Regions from separate parts of the Homo sapiens genome. Here all the other regions are linked to region 3. The links are contacts of gene promoters, found by promoter capture Hi-C in human tissues and cell types (Jung and others, 2019). All regions are on one chromosome and are shown on one strand. Each heading gives the region's core, a stretch centred on a gene start or on the middle of the fragment in contact. The rest is flanking DNA. Distances are from core to core; before and after follow the strand shown.

Region 1 (2,700 bases), core at 201-2,700, 45 kb after region 3:
CTACAATTTACCTGTATGACAAATTTGCACATATACCCCAAAAACTAGAAATTAAAAAACATACTAAACGAAAGGGTTCAGGGAGCTTCTGTGTCAGCAAACACATTTACATACCCTGAGAGTGGCACACCCCAAGTCCACAGAGATGTTACCAAACGAAACTCAAGTCAGCCTGCCTGATACAGCAAAGTCAAATGCCGACATGCAGATTGCCGCAAAAGAAAAGGAGGAATTTATTACAGGGGGCCAAGCAAGGAGAAGTGGGCAGCTAATGCTTAAGATCTGAACTCTCTGATGGATGGCTTACAGGTAAGTTTTTAAAGGCAGGGAGACAGAGGTTACAGGCAAAGTCATAAATCAGTATATTGACATTATATATGGGCTTAACCTGAAAATATGGGACATCTCAAAGTCAGGGCCCACACATCTTAGGTAGAGTCAAACATTTTCTGATTTGTGATTGGTTAACGAGGCAAAGTTTTGTCTAAAAAATTGGAATCAGCAGAAAAGAATTTTAGCTCTCATCCATGGGTGTGACTTCCTCCAGGCCTCTCAGGAAGAAATTCAGAAGAAAAAGTGGTGGTCTGAGTTCTGTCCTCAGTTCCTCCTTATCTGAGGTCTATGTGCCAGTAGATCTATTTAGTGGGGTTCCAGGTTTCTGAAAAACAACTCATGAACATATGGAAAGATGTTATTTTAGTTTTTATAATGGAACTAAACATTCTGTGATTTTTAACTTCCTTGGCTATTGCATTAGGCAATTATTACCTTCTTACTTATGAAGTTGCTTGTTTATTTCTCAGTACTAGCTAGGTGCCTGGAATTTCCCTGAAGGAACTTAAGCTTTTCCTTTATCTCTGTACTTGGAGGAACTTGCAGGTCACTAAGAGGGGTCCCCGCTTCATCTCATGCCCCATTACCCAACTTCTGGGGAGGTGGGGGCTGTAGATTGAGTCAATTACCAATAGCCACATTAATGTCTATATAATGAAACCACCATAAAACCCATAATGAAAGGGTTCAGGGAGCTTCTGAGTTGGCAAACACATTTACTTGCCCAGAGGATTGCAGACCCCAACTCCACAGACAGGAGCTCGCGGGCTTGGGATTCTTCTGGAACTTCCCAGATGTACCTCTTCATCTGACTCTTCATTTGTATCCCTTATAATAAACTATAATAGTGAGTGTAGCATTTTCTTTATTTTCATGCTTCATTCTAGCCAGTTATATAACCTGAAGCAGAGTGGTTGTGAGAACCTCCAACTTTGTATCCAAATCAGGTAGAAGTAACCTGGATACCCCCTACTTGAGACTGACGTCTGAAGGGAAGGCAGTCTTGTGGGATTGATTTCTGCGACATCTGGAGTCTGATGCTCCAGACTGCAGTAAGTGTCAGGACTAAATTAAATAGTAAGACACTTAGTTGGTGTGAGAGTTGGAGAAGTAGTATTGGAAAAGACACTGTGAATTTGATTTCAAAAGAAAAAAAAGTTTCGCTATTTTTGTTTTGTTTCCAATTATTATAAAACTGGTTTATGTCTTACTTGGCACGGACAGAAATTCTTTACATGTCTGCTTGACATAACAACGTCACAGATTCTGGACCGTAATTTATGGTAAATGGCAAATCAAACACAGAAGCATTCACCCAGAGCACTAAATAGTCTTTGGGCAGAACTATTAAACACCAAAAGAACAGGCTACCCTGTCCTTATCTTATTTTCTTTTAGATAAGTTTTTATAATATTTAGACCAGAATCAACATTACTCTGCCTTAGAGGGATTTTTTTTTCTTTCAGAACAATCACAATAATGATATCAATGAACATGGATAGAGAATATACTATGGGCCAGATAGTCTCCCAGGTGGTTTACAAGTATTTTATTTATTCCTTTCAATAATGCTACAAAGCAAGCAATTTTATTATGCATCTTTTATAGGAAAGGAACATGAAGATCATGTTATCCAAAAATCATGAAATGGGTAAGGAATAGAAGCTAGATTCAAAACAAAACACAAAAACATTTAAACATTTAAACATGCAAAGTTGGGAATTGATTAGTTTATAGGCTATCAAAGCATTGTGACCCAGTTCAAAATAGTTGAAATTCCCCTTCAGATTTTTTTATAAAAGGCAGTATTTCTCAAAGTGTAATCCATAAGTATTCTGAATGATTCAGATGTTCCTCAACCTTTAAGAACCACAAATCTATGATGTGAACATCAAAGTTCTTTCACTCTGCTACCTCATGACAGTTAATATAAATATGGTATTTAAAACCGTTAGCATTGTTTACATTGCTATATTAATGTAGAAGTTCACAGAACAAACAGCTAATTAAAAGATTAAATAACACGCATGTAAATGCATGTAAAATGCCGAGCATATTCACTAGCATGTAGAAATGTTCAATAAATGAAATATATTATTATTATCATGATACAATTACAGAAAATTAAAAACTTATTTCAGGTAATTAAGTCATATTTATTCAGTTCAGGGATTGTCAATGATCAGAATTCTGGATTTTGTCTTTACTAATTCATTGCACTTGCTATCCTTAGCCAGGGACATATCTGTTCATCTTCCCAATCACAGTCGTTTTGCTTTTACCAAAACTTGGATGCTAAATTAGTTCACTACATATATTCACCCTTAGGAAATACTGAAATCTGTATTCCCTTGCCAAAGGTGATTT
Region 2 (2,700 bases), core at 106-2,605, 34 kb before region 3:
AATGGAAGTCCCTGTCATTAAGCCACGCTGAACAGCTGACCTGGGACACCAGATCAGTGAGGGAAAACTGTGACTGCAGCATGCAGCACAACTGGACTTTTTCTTTCTTTTATTTTTCTTGATCACATTGCTTGAGTTTCCAAACAGCACAATGCATGTTTAACCCAGGGAATAATTAATAGTGGTGGTAGGGCAATATTGAGCATTTATGTGAAGCTTACAGTATCCTAGGAATTGTTCTTAATGCCAGTTTACCACATTTAATTTTCCTCAAGAACCTATGAGGTATATAATCTAATTTCACCATTTACAGATTTAAAAGTTCAAGTTCTGGGGTATCTATCTAACATCACACAGCTAACCCCATGGAGTAAGTACATCGGTGCAGGTGCGGGACCCAGAGCATGTCACTTACCTCAGTTCTCTTGGGGACACAGTCCTGCTTCCGTAGACTAAAATTTGGGTTTTAGATAACTCACTATTGGTTTCACCAGGGAAACATAAATATGATTGAAACATTTGTTGCTAGTGTTTTCTAACTCTAAGACCTAATTTCCATTCAAAGAAAAATTAGTTGTTTTTCCTCTGCAAAATTTTCATCCCACTAAAACAAATGTATCATTCAATAACAGAGGAAGAATATATATGATTTTGTCCATAAATACTTTGGAAATGAAAAACCCGTTTACTAATATGTTGCAGTAAATAAGTATTATATAAAATGAGACTCAAAGGAAAAATAAAACAGATTGGCTTTTCTCCATAAAAATAGATGATAGAGGGAAATGAGGAAATACAGTCAAGAACTAATAGAAATGTTTCAAAAGCAGAACAAGTCAAGAACCGTGACCATCTTTTGTTCCTGCAATACTGTCTACCTATCTGGTGTAACTCACCATCAGATGATGTCTTGACCCTCATTTGGAGGGGCTCATGGTGTGTGGCTGGCTTAAGTGTGCAAAGAAAAACAAAAGTGACATCATCCCTGGCTTCACTGTGTCCATTAGGGGTGTAGATAAAAGTTTTCTGTTAATAAGTCCTCTCTGGGGTTTTGAAGACGAATGCAAATAAAGGAGCTAAAGAAGCTAATAGATATCTCTGTTGCCCTTTTCTGATTTTCTTCTCATTTTTTTTTAAGCGACAGAATCTTACTATGTTGCCCAGGCTGGAGTGCAGTAGATTTTTACAGGTGAGATCACAGTGCACAAAGGCCTCGACCTCCTGGCCTCAAGTGAACCCCCTCCACATCACTCTCCTGAATAGCTGGTACTACAGACACACACCACTGTGCCCAGCTGTTTTGTTGTTGTTATTTAATCTTCTTTTATTGTTAAACTGAAAATCTCAACAAATATTAACAATAATCTCAAAGTTAGCCATTACTAATGAATTTTTACCTATGATATATGAGTTAGTTATATATGGCCTTTTGTGTTTTACACAATATTTTCATGTGTATGTGCCTCCTCCTTTAAACTTTAGGAAATTTTTATAAAATATTGCTATTTGTGTTCCAATCTTTCACAAATATAGGCTTTGAAACTCAGAGTTCAGTTGATGTGTCAAAGAGAGTATCGCTGATCAGTAATGAACTCCATACTAAAATTGAGGTTGTCTTTTTCACATCTTCATTGCTATCACTCTTCATTAGCTTGTTATGTTCTTTCTTCTGTTATTCACCTGCAAGCTCTGTTACTTTAGTGATGCATTTAATTTTAAAGTTTGTTTTTATTTTAAATATTGATATGACTAAAAAATCTAAAATCACAGTCTAGTACAAATAAAATTTAAAAATCAACCATAATGTAATAGTTCAGATAGAAACAAAACTTTAAAATTCATGTCTTGACTTCATACTATGAATATTTATGAAGTGTACACCATGTAGCAGACAGTTGGAATAAAATAGGTAACTAGGTGGAAGCAACTCCACCCTCTTGGATCTTGCAGACAAGTATTTCTGAACCGTTTTCTGTGCGTGTGTTCTAGAATGATGTTGATCATGTTACCATGTCACGGAAGTCTTTTCATGAAAACGTTTGTCCAGATGGTGTCTGTCTTCTGTTTGTTGGGCCCACACTTTAGGGCTGGTGTCTCCGCTGACTTCTAGGGCTTCAGCCCGCAGAGAGCTTGTCCTGACTCCTGTGCTACCTGGTTTCCTGTAAGGCTATGAGAGGGCAGGCCCTGGTGGAACACTGGAGAGCAGGAGAAAGAAGGAAACTGTGTCTTATTTCCTGCTTCTGGTGATGATCTGTGGCGGCAGCAGCAGCAACTGCAGGCAGCAGGGGTCCTGAGGGAGTTGTGGGCTTACAGTCAGTTTCAGCTGCATTTGTGGGGATGCAGGGCATCTAAGTTGCCGCATATCAGCATGGGAAAGTCACACAAGCAGCCCTGGGCGTGCGGTCTCCATCAGCTCAGCACTGAGGAGCATATGAGGCGCCACTGGTGACAACTCCTGGTCTGTGAGTGATAACACTCGGCTCCTTGCTGCATCAGCCTTCCCTCCAGCCCTTTGTGCCACCCTGTAACCACTTTTGTACATTAAATCTATTCTATTTAAAATAGGTTAAGTGTATATATGTGACTAGACATTGATATCCTATCAAATTAATTATACCACAATTAAAATCCAAATAGTGGTTATTTAGGTTGTGTTCAAATTTCTAAGTGATAAATTGTTTGACATTTTTAATAGCTTAT
Region 3 (2,700 bases), core at 156-2,655:
TCTGGTGTCTTTCTCACTTGCTCAGAGTCTTTGCCAAAAGCCATTAGATGTGTGAGGTTTCCCTTGACTACTTTATTCAAAGGTGAACATACTAGTGCATTTCTAACACCCTTCTTTGACTTACTTTTCTCCAAAATGTTTATCCTCTTATGACATAAAGTGTTTTATAATCATCATCTGATCACACTCACTATGACCTGTATGGACACGGGCTTTCTTTATTCTGGTCACTGTGGTAGCCCCAGTGATCAACACATAGCCAGGCTTCATAAATGTTGTTGAAAGGATGAATCTCATGCTTTTCTTAATTTCTGTTTTTATATCTACTTATTTTCTATAGGATATATTGGATGTATTAATTTCCTACGAATGCCAGTACAGAGAAATCACAAACAGGTTACCTAAAACAATAGAAATTTATTCTCTCATAGTTTTGGAGTCTAGAAATCTGAAATCAAGTTGTCAGCAGGGTTGGACACTTCTGAGGGCTCTAAGAGGATGAATCTGTCCCATTCCTCTCTCCCAGGTTCCTGTTATAACTAACAGTTTTTGGCATTTCTTGATTTGTAGATGCACCACTCCAATCCCTGCCTCCCCTATCACATGGTATCCTCAGTGTCTCAGTCTTCACATGGCCACCCACTTATCAGAACATGAGTCATATTGAATTAGAGAGACCCACTCTGCTCCAACTTGACCTCACCTTAACTAATTATACCCTTTATGTATTTCTAAACAAGCTCACTTGCTATCTTTTGGGGAAGAAACATAATTCAATGCATCACACTGGGCTATAGAAAAAAGAGCATATGTCTTAGATTTGTATAATTGAAAATCTTTTCAGTGAATCCACTTACTGTATAGAAAACTTACTATAAAGTATAGATAAAATACTTTAAACTGTAAAGTAATAGGTAAACATACACATTTTCTTAACTCTGGTAGGAAAAATGCCTACTATCATGTGAATAAAGGCACAAATTTATTGTCCATTTCTAGTATTGTGTTGGTCACATGGTGACTGAACCTGAATTTCTCTATCAATTTACCTGTAACAGGCTTCTGATGTTTTAGGAACTGTTTGCTTTGGAGACATATTCTTTTTGGAAAAACTCCATTGATCATGTAGTAGATATTGTTATTGTAATTTTTCAATGGAGAAAAAGAATGCTTAGAAGAAAAGTTAGGACAAGCTCCATAATTTTATAAGTGAGACACTGCTGAGAGAACATATTTCTTTATGATTCCATAATTCTTAAACTTTGAGTTTTATAATTCTGGCCATCCTGTATTGATCACCAAACTACAGAATTTACCATAATCACATGCTTTATAAGGCACTGGGTAAATGTTTATCAAATTAATGAACTGTTTTTGCGGTGCTAGGTAACAGGCATATTCATCATGGCATGGGAGAATCAGACCTTCAACTCTGACTTCCTCCTCCTGGGAATCTTCAATCATAGCCCCACCCACACCTTCCTCTTCTTTCTGGTCCTGGCCATCTTTTCAGTGGCCTTCATGGGAAACTCCATCATGGTTCTCCTCATCTACCTGGATACCCAGCTCCACACCCCCATGTACTTCCTCCTCAGCCAACTGTCCCTCATGGACCTCATGCTCATCTGCACCACTGTACCCAAGATGGCCTTCAACTACTTGTCTGGCAGCAAGTCCATTTCTATGGCTGGCTGTGCCACACAAATTTTCTTCTATATATCATTGCTTGGCTCCGAATGCTTTCTGTTGGCTGTTATGTCTTATGACCGCTACACTGCCATTTGCCACCCTCTAAGATACACCAATCTCATGAGACCCAAAATTTGTGGACTTATGACTGCCTTCTCCTGGATCCTGGGCTCTACAGATGGAATCATTGATGCTGTAGCGACATTTTCCTTCTCCTACTGTGGGTCTCGGGAAATAGCCCACTTCTGCTGTGACTTCCCTTCCCTACTAATCCTCTCATGCAATGACACATCAATATTTGAAGAGGTTATTTTCATCTGCTGTATAGTAATGCTTGTTTTCCCTGTTGCAATCATCATCACTTCCTATGCTCGAGTTATTCTGGCTGTCATTCACATGGGATCTGGAGAGGGACGTCGCAAAGCTTTTACTACTTGTTCCTCTCACCTCATGGTGGTGGGAATGTACTATGGAGCAGGTTTGTTCATGTGCATTCAGCCCACATCTCATCATTCTCCTATGCAGGACAAGATGGTGTCTGTATTCTACACCATCGTCACTCCCATGCTGAATCCTCTCATTTATAGCCTCCGCAACAAGGAAGTGACCAGAGCATTAATGAAAATCTTAGGAAAGGGCAAGTCTGGAGATTGAGTTACCTCATAAATTTCATGTTTTGCTGTCTGCTAACGTCTTCTTTTTATTGTCTCTCTTTTTCTATTAAGTCCTAAAAATATCACTAATTGTGTGCATTGCTCAACATATTGATGGGTACCAGTATAATTTATTTCAGATAAACTATTTTAGATTTTTTAATATTCAATTCAGTTATGACTACAATATAAGGCATTTTCAATAAAGACATTCCATTTTTATTTTTAAATTTCATTATCATTTTGGGAAACACATAGTGTTTGGTTACATTAATAAGTTCTTTAATGGTGATTTCTGAGATTTTAGTGCAGCGATCAACCAAGCAGTGTTCGCTGTACCTAATGTGTAGTCTTTTAG

What was found. Contacts are between HindIII fragments. The study calls those that stand out against the background at their distance.
Region 1: a fragment that was not itself captured here is called in contact with the fragment with the promoter of OR2M7 in region 3 in 3 of the 25 tissues and cell types used here (neural progenitor cells, ovary and stomach).
Region 2: a fragment that was not itself captured here is called in contact with the fragment with the promoter of OR2M7 in region 3 in 3 of the 25 tissues and cell types used here (aorta, heart left ventricle and thymus).

Annotation. Positions count from the first base shown.
Region 1 is chr1:248,277,974-248,280,673 of GRCh38, reverse strand. It overlaps OR2T33 (olfactory receptor family 2 subfamily T member 33), which reads left to right and starts at 2,698. Exons shown (of 2, transcript NM_001004695.2): 1 at 2,698-2,700. The HindIII fragment of the contact is 7,061 bases long and covers 1-2,700 here.
Region 2 is chr1:248,356,920-248,359,619 of GRCh38, reverse strand. No RefSeq gene overlaps it. Among named protein-coding and RNA genes, the nearest start is that of OR2T4, 3.4 kb to the left of the region's middle. The HindIII fragment of the contact is 5,419 bases long and covers 1-2,700 here.
Region 3 is chr1:248,323,273-248,325,972 of GRCh38, reverse strand. OR2M7 (olfactory receptor family 2 subfamily M member 7) reads left to right here and starts at 1,405. Exons shown (of 1, transcript NM_001004691.1): 1 at 1,405-2,343. The coding sequence starts at 1,405. The coding sequence ends at 2,343. The HindIII fragment of the contact is 10,500 bases long and covers 1-2,700 here.